Linked DNA regions of Homo sapiens: region 1 is linked to region 2. Evidence: promoter capture Hi-C in 16 types of primary human blood cells and fetal thymus (Javierre and others, 2016). All regions are on one chromosome and are shown on one strand. Each heading gives the region's core, a stretch centred on a gene start or on the middle of the fragment in contact. The rest is flanking DNA. Distances are from core to core; before and after follow the strand shown.

The links. The method cuts DNA at HindIII sites, captures the fragments that hold promoters and counts their contacts. A CHiCAGO score of 5 or more calls a contact.
Region 1: a contact is called between a fragment that was not itself captured here and the fragment with the promoter of ART4 in region 2, in 1 of 17 cell types (erythroblasts). The highest score is 5.2, in erythroblasts.

Annotation. Positions count from the first base shown.
Region 1 is chr12:14,956,089-14,959,993 of GRCh38, forward strand. All of the region lies in intron 1 of ARHGDIB (Rho GDP dissociation inhibitor beta), which reads right to left. Among named protein-coding and RNA genes, the nearest start is that of ARHGDIB, 3.6 kb to the right of the region's middle. RefSeq lists enhancers at 78-247, 3,856-3,905. The HindIII fragment of the contact is 2,551 bases long and covers 1,278-3,828 here.
Region 2 is chr12:14,841,774-14,845,817 of GRCh38, forward strand. ART4 (ADP-ribosyltransferase 4 (inactive) (Dombrock blood group)) reads right to left here and starts at 1,753. Exons shown (of 3, transcript NM_021071.4): 1 at 1,197-1,753. The coding sequence starts at 1,340. The HindIII fragment of the contact is 16,901 bases long and covers 1-4,044 here.

The sequences.
Region 1 (3,905 bases), core at 1,303-3,802, 120 kb after region 2:
GACTTTTAGGCACTATGCTTTATTGCTTCAGTCATCTTTAAGAAGTTATAATAAAATTAGAGTTTGTTAGTCATCTTGGGAATCTACCTGGAGGTGCACAAGCAGAGGTAAATGCTTCTTTGCAAGCTCTGCAGAGACAGCTTTAACAAAGCAGGGAAGTGTCAGATAACGATGTTTCAGCGCAACTCGGTTCCTGCGTTACCTCCTGCAAGTTGCTTAACCTCACTGGGCCCCAGTTTCATCCTCTGCAAAAAGAAGCCGTGGCATGAGAGGATCTCTGAGGCCCCTTCTTAATTTAATGACTCAAATGCTCCCTAATTTAAAGAAGCTTGTGAAATGAGAAAAGAAAAGAGGAAGTAAAAGGGAGATTGGGGAGGACTCAGCCCATCAGCATAGAATCTTCTGGATGGGCTTTCCTCACCTTCCTCAGCTGCTCATCCCCTATTCTACAAAGGGCAGAGCTGAGTTTTGCTTATTTTTGACTTTGGTCCTTTGCACAGGAAAAATGAAATGGAGAATGAACAGTTATATGTTTAACCAGGTTAATGTGGACCCCATTTATTAGGCCCCAAAGCACATATCATTTTTTCACACAGGCTTGCTACTCTAGTTTTCTGTATTTTCTGCTTCACAGATGCGCATACAGATTAACTTTCACATTGGAGGCCTCACATCCTCATGTTTGCTACTCAGCAAAGCACTGGCAAGCATTAGATGTGCTGAGATGGGGACTTAATCTTCTCAGGCTCAATTAAAATGTCGAATTAAATTAGGATGGTTACTCACAGCATGCATATGACATAGCACACATCAATGTTTTTGCTTGCAAATTCAGTGAAATTTCCAAGACTTTGAAAGTGAATTACACTTAAAAATTTACACCCATGTCAGGATAGAGCATCATCTGTTTCATTAATGCAGCTCTAAATGAACTGAGGACAAGAAAAGGTAGAACTCCTGAGTTTAGATTAAACAAATTACCTGGGTAATTCAGAGAAAGGTGACTTTCATGTCTCATAGAACATAGATTGAGTCAGATGGACCAGGGATTCAAAACCAGGCTCTGCATTATGACAGGACTCAATCAAGTTGCTAATTTCACTGAGCCTCAGTTTTATCACCACTAAAATGGGGATATTCTTTTTTACGGGGTTGAAAGATTGGAGAAAACACATGAAAAATTATAGGACTATACTGGTCAAGAATAGATGTTCCGTGAATATTTGTTCCCTTCCTCTTCTTCCTTCCCTGCCCCAGTGTGGTCTGCTTTGTTGCAAAGCTTCACTGAAGCTAGGTAACTGTTTCCACACCAAATACTTTCCCCTGGATGGGAGCTATGTCCCCACTCCTTCCTCCTTAAAAATAGATTTTTGTCTTTGAGGAGTATTAAAGAGATAAGAAGTTCTGGGGAATTGAAAGGATTGTTTAAAAACTGAATCAACCTTAAAATGAGACTATATTATATTTCTTTTAAAAACTTTCATGTAAACAATTTAATTTTAGGTTTTATTTATTGCTCCCTGTCTTCATTGAAGCCAGAGGTCACTCTGCGAATGATGAGAAATGTCAGTGAACACAGGCACAGCTAATGAAGAGAATTCCCTCTGGCTCTGGAGCAAAATACCACAGAGACTTAACTCACGGCCCAAAGCTGGATCTGCAAAATTGTGCTGGATTATGCATCTAGACACACAGGCCATGGATATTAATGTATTAGGTAGAAGAGATAGCGATGAGAGAGAGAGAAGGAAGAGGGGAAAGAGGGAGAGAGAAAGAGGAGAGAGAGAGGAGGGAGAAGGGAGAAAGAGAGAGAGGGAAGAGAGAGAGAAAAGTGGAAATACCAGAAGTAGGGGATTTCTATCAGAGAAGTTCCTATGTGAGCATCAGCATTCTCTGTAACTCCTGCTACCTCCACTTTCCCTGCTGACTAGGATATGTCTGACTTCCCCCAAATCGGGCTGTGGGTCTAGTGCAGGTCTGGAGAGTCAGGCCATCTCTAAAACACTGTTGACATTTCAGAGCTAGTCAAGGATTTGAATGTGCTGTGCTGCTTGCCTGGCAATTTGGTGTATTACGGGATTGCAAATTTGTCTCTCAGGACACCAGAAGCCTTCTTGGTTCGGGATTCCACCCTCTCCCCACCGCCCCTGTCCCTGGTGACATGGAGGAATCCATACTCCCCACTTTGCGGTGCTGCTTTCTACCACCTCAGCCCCATGAAGGACTACGAAAACTTCAAAACTGGATGAGAAAAACCAAAGACAAGATTATTTTGTAAGAGACAATAAATATTGTAATCAATCCAGAGAAGGGCACAAATTACTAGAAACGTAATTTCTTACCATTTGTCTTTGTGAGAGAAACAATTTATTATTTCTTGCCTGTGCATTTTTTAGTGTGTTTTTCTAACCCACATTCATATGCACAAAGAGAGAGAACTCAAAGAGATCCCGTGAGCTTTGCTGAGTGCCCAACGTGTGAAGTCATGCCACCAAGTACCTTCACAAATATTATTTTAAATAATTCTCAAAGAAAACTGTGCATTAAGGAAGCCATTGCCTTCAGTATCTCAATATATTCACAAAAGTTTTAAATTAGCATGAAAAGTTAGACAGAATTGAGAGAGAATTTTTTTTATGACCGTTTGTGCTAAGATTATTAGGCTCTTTAAGAAAGCCCAAGTGAATTTTTACCAGCGGTAAAATTCACTCTTTGGCTGTGGACACCAGAGAGTAACACAACACAGGATGATTCAGGATGTGCTTATTGCACAGATAAATGTTGCTGACGTTTCAGGGGCAACATGAGACTCATCTCTGGGTATGCCAGTGTAGCCTTGAATACAGGATCCCGGGCAGCAATAACACAAACCAGGAATAAGAACTCTCAAAATATGGAATTGGAGAAAATTTCTTCCATGTGATTCTTCCTAAAGAATGTGGGAGATCACCTGAGCCTCAGGAGGTCGAGGCTGCAGTGAGCTGCGTTCACGCCCCTGCACTTCAGCTCGGGTGACAGAGTGAGACTTGTCTCAAAAAAATAATAATAGGCCATGCATGGTGGCTCACGCCTTTAATCCCAGGACTTTGGGAGGCCAAGGCAGGCGGATTGCTTGAGCCCAGGAATTCAAGACCAGCCCTGGCAACATGGAGAAACCCCGTCTCTACTAAAAATGGTAAAATTAGCCAGCGTGGTGATGCGCGCCTATAGTCCCAGCTACTCGGGAGGTTGAGGCGGGAGGATCACGTGAGCCTCCTGAGTAGGTAGGACCACAGGCACGCACCACCATGCCCTGTGAATTGCAATTCAGAGGCATTGTGGCTATTGATCCTTTTTGTATCAGTATGTAATTTTAGTCAAATTATTGAACACTTCTGCATTCTTCTCAGGAACAAAATTTGAAAGTTTTTATCACCAGGCCTGACACATAGAAGGCACTCAATGAATGTTGGTTCTCCTTTTCTATCTGCATAATTTCGACTCCCCAGGGCTTCTCTTTTCCTGCTAGCTGATGTTTGTCATGTACTGTGCTCTCCCAAATCAGCTCAGACCCGTATCTTTCCCTCAGAATGACTTTGTGGTGCTGAGTGTCTACTGAAAACAGAACCTTAATGTTGCTCAGAGCTAACTTCCCTAGGGGACAAACTCATGCTCTCCAAAGCAAGGAAGGACCAAATTCCAGTCGAGGCCTGAAAAATGCTTGCCAGTTTCTGTTCAGTGACAGCATAGTTAGTCCTCAGGTTTTGCATCTGTGAAGCATGGATGGAGAAAGAACTGTCTCTTAGAATTTCACACATCTCACAAAAGAGTAAGATGCTCTTGTTACTAAGCTTGTGCTATATCTGCTTTGGGAGGGAATATATTCTTACAAATTAAAAAAACACAAAGCCAATGGCAAGATTCAC
Region 2 (4,044 bases), core at 503-3,002:
GCAAATTCCAGAATGGGACCGACTCGTTTGCAGGCAGTACTGAACTGGGGCCTGCCCAGGTAAGATTCTTGTCATGGGGAAACAGAGAACTGATGCCCTTTGCCATCAGGCTAACTCCCAGGAGGATGAAGAGCAGAGCCAAACTCAGCACACCCAGTTGTTTTTTCCCATGTTACCAGTCAAGTACATTTGTCCCCCTCAGGGACAGCAGAGTGAGTCAAGGGTTGGACAGTGGTCAGGAATGTGCCTAGGAAAGTCCCTCCCCTCCTGGAAAAGGACATTCCTTTCTAATGGGTAGCCAACAGAATGTTGTTTATTCACGTCTAGTGCATGCTAAACTGAAATGACAGATTTGAATAGAAGTCCACAAAATATCATCAGACTATCATTTAGAGCCATATATAAATTATATAAATTCTAAAACATTCCTTTCTTGGCAAAGAAATGATGTTTTCGTAATAAACAGTACTCATTGAGGGACATGTTAAAGGATCACATTCCATCCAGTCAATGTTAAGGATGTTGGAACTGGAACTTAAAGAACATCCCATTTGGTATTTTTACTATGTTATTTATGATGAGACGTCAGCTAGTTGTTTGTGAACTAGAACACATTTTTAAGACTGATTAAATGATTTTAACCAATAACTCTTCACATCAGGTATTAAAATAGGTCTACGGTATCTATTTAAGCCAAGCCGAGCCAAACCAAACCAATAATACAATGTTCTGTCAACTGTCATGATGAACTCTGAAACTTTGTTAATATGTTACTAGATCTCAAATATGTACTCTGTCATCTCTTAACATTAGGTTGTTTTTTGTTACACAGATCTTTATTAAAATATTCACTTAAAACTTAAGTCAATCTGTATGCTAGAGTTTAAAGCCAAATAGACTTGGTTTATTTTGCATTGTTTGTACTATGGAAGCAATATTTTACTTAATTTTTACAGTGGATCAGGAAAATAACTTTATGCCACTAGCATCCATAATGTCAAGTGTACTAACAGTGAAGGATTCTACAATTTTTCATAACTGTTTTCAACACTCTTTACTAACATGATTTGTTAAAATGTCTGAATGAAACTAGATTCTGAATGCCTAAGTTTTCGGCCATTTAAAGGCTGTGGCCGGGTGAATGCTCTGTTGGAGCACTGATCATAAAGAGATCACCCCCTCAATTGTCCCCCTACCTCAGAACCCTCTGTGGGTCTCTGCAGGCCAGAGAGGAGCAGCAGGAATGGCAGCAGGCCTCCAAGGAGCCAGATTCTCATCGTTGCAGGAGGTACAGTAGTTGGGAGAAGAATCTTCTTGCATCTGTTGATCAATGGACCCATTTGCTTGTGTCACAAGTACTTCTCCTTTGCCCTTGCAGCTTCATCCTGAGATGAATTCTCAGAGTTCTCCTTTGAGGTTTTCTTTCAGTCTCATCCGTAACCGTTTTTTCCCCTGTCTATGCTGAGCAACTTCTGTTGCCCACCAACAACCAATAGCTTGTCTGAGGGAAGAAATCAACTCCGACTTCTTTGCAAAACTGAAATCTCTGTGAAATAGCCAGATGCGCACACCAAATAAGGGTTTCTAAAGAGAACCCAAGTTACTTTTCAATTAAAAAAATAAAATCTCTGATCTAGTCTGTATTCAGGGGAATGCCGAAGTCCTGTTAAGTGTCAGACTCAGCAGTTCAGCCTTCCCTTTCCCAGCCAAACAGGAAAAAGCATGCTCTGTCCAGCGTTTGGGGCCAAGTAGCATTATCTGGAGCCCCAGGCTTCCATCAAAACTGATAAGATTGGCATGCGCAGGGCGGCTGGGAACGCGCCACCCTGGGTGTCTATAGGCTCATCTGGCCCTGCTGATAGGCCCTGCCCAGGACGGGCGTTCACAGAGCAAAGTGTGTTTTAGAGTTATTGTCAAAAAGAAGGCTCTTTGTACTGCTTTTCCCTGGCACCTTTGAAACTCTCCAATCCAGAGATTGTACCTCTGGGTTCAAAGCTCTTCCCCCATTTTCTCTTCTGAAGACAGGCCCTCTGTCCGCACAGTTCCAGTCTCCAGTGAATCCTAATGACGACTGTCAGGAGACTGCTTATGTAGAGCTGACATAAGTTAAAATAGGGTCCACTGTGCAAACTTAATCCAGCACAGTTCTATTAAGCACTCTCTTTTAGGTAGGTACTACCCTTTCTAGTCTAAACATCCTTCTTCTCCTCCCAACCCTTGATATAATTATATTTTCTTGCAAATATTTTGTATTTATACTTCTGGATTCATTATTTAAGAAACTAAAAGTTAGCAATCCTTGATAATTGTTTTTCTTGCAAATATTTACTTCTGGATTCAATTTTTAACTTTTAAGGTAAACTAAGTGCTGTTCTTAAGTATTCTAGAATTTTTTGGCACCCTGAATTTTTTTAATCTAAATTTTCTGATGATCACAGCAGTTCTGTCTCATTAACAAATATTCAGAATATTTAGAAAGCACAAAGGAGAAAAAAATGACACATAACCCGTCACTTGGAGACAGCCACTAATTAGGTCTGGATTTTGATTTATACACCCTTAGACATACACACACACAGGTTTCTAGAACTGAAATAATATAGTATGCAGTTTTGCATACTGTTTATTCCCCTTAATATTTTAATGTAAGCATGTCCCTATATAATTTAATACCTATTGAAACATTTTTTAAACAAAGGTTCACTATATTCCATTACATAGGTGCTGCCACACAATGGGACAGCATGGGTGGATCCATGGACAGTCTCAGAAGAAGATTGATAAGTGACTAGAACATGGACTCTTGAATAAGACATCTCAGTTCAATTCCTGGTGCTCCTTCTTCCTAAATGTGTGATCTTGGACAAGCTACTTAACCTCTCTGTCTCTCTGTTTCCTCATGTGTTGAATGGAGATAATAATAGTACCAACTTCATTTTAGTGTTGATACATTCATACTCCTTAGAATAGCATCTGGCACCTAGAAATTTTCCAACAAATAAAACCAATTATTATTATTTGCACCAAAGTTTATTTAATAAATATCTTATATTTAGCTTGTTTTCAACTACATAAATTTTTGTGTGTTTCTCACAATTTTTAAGATGCAGTTCTAGAGATGTGACTACTGATCCATGGAATGCATATTTTTCAGATTTAATGGCAACCACTAGCAGTGTGTGAAAATATCCCTTTAAGACTTTAACAATTCTTAAGGTTCCTTATTAGCAACTGTTACTTTGGAATATTGAGATGTCATGAAGAGAACTAGACTTAGAATATGAAAATTTGAATTATAGTTTGAGTTCTACCCACAATGCTGGCTGAGGTAACTTTAAAAAATAAGTAATTTGTGCTTAGCCTCAGTTTCCTTAACCTTATAGAAAGTTGTCAGGCTTAAATAAGGTGAAACTTTTCTTTTATTGAGCAAGTACTGTACTTCAAGACCTTTTTGCATGTTATCTCAACCCATGGGACGACCATGAAGAGATATTTTAACCTTTCCTTTATAAATGTGGTTGTTGAGGCCCTGTGAAGTTTAATAACTTTTTAGTAATCACAGGTGCTTTTCTGTCTCCTGAAGCCCACGATCTTAAAACACTCTAAAAGAGTGTGTCATTTTATTATTATCTTCTATAAAGGTTTTGCTATTTTTCCTATCGTGACTGCCACTTCCAGGATAAGACCACTGGAGGGCAGCAGAAAACTTTGTAACATTTTATACCACTCAGTCTAAAAGAGGGAGAACAGAAAAGGGAATGGGGCAGGGAGCAGGAAGGGGGATAGAAAGAGAGAGAGAGAGGGAGAAAGATAGAGGGAGAGAGGGAGAGAGAGTGAGGGGGAGAGCAAAAGAGAAGGGGAGCGAGAGAGTGGGGAGGGGAGGGGAGAGAGAGAAGGTAGGGAGAGAGAGAGAAGGTGGGGAGAGAGAGAGAAAGAGAGAGACAGAGAGAGAGAACCATCAGTGAAAACAACTGGGGTAGGGAAAAGCTCAAGTTCTGGTGTATATGTGAACATATTTGAATTAAAATGAAAAGTTAAGTTTTC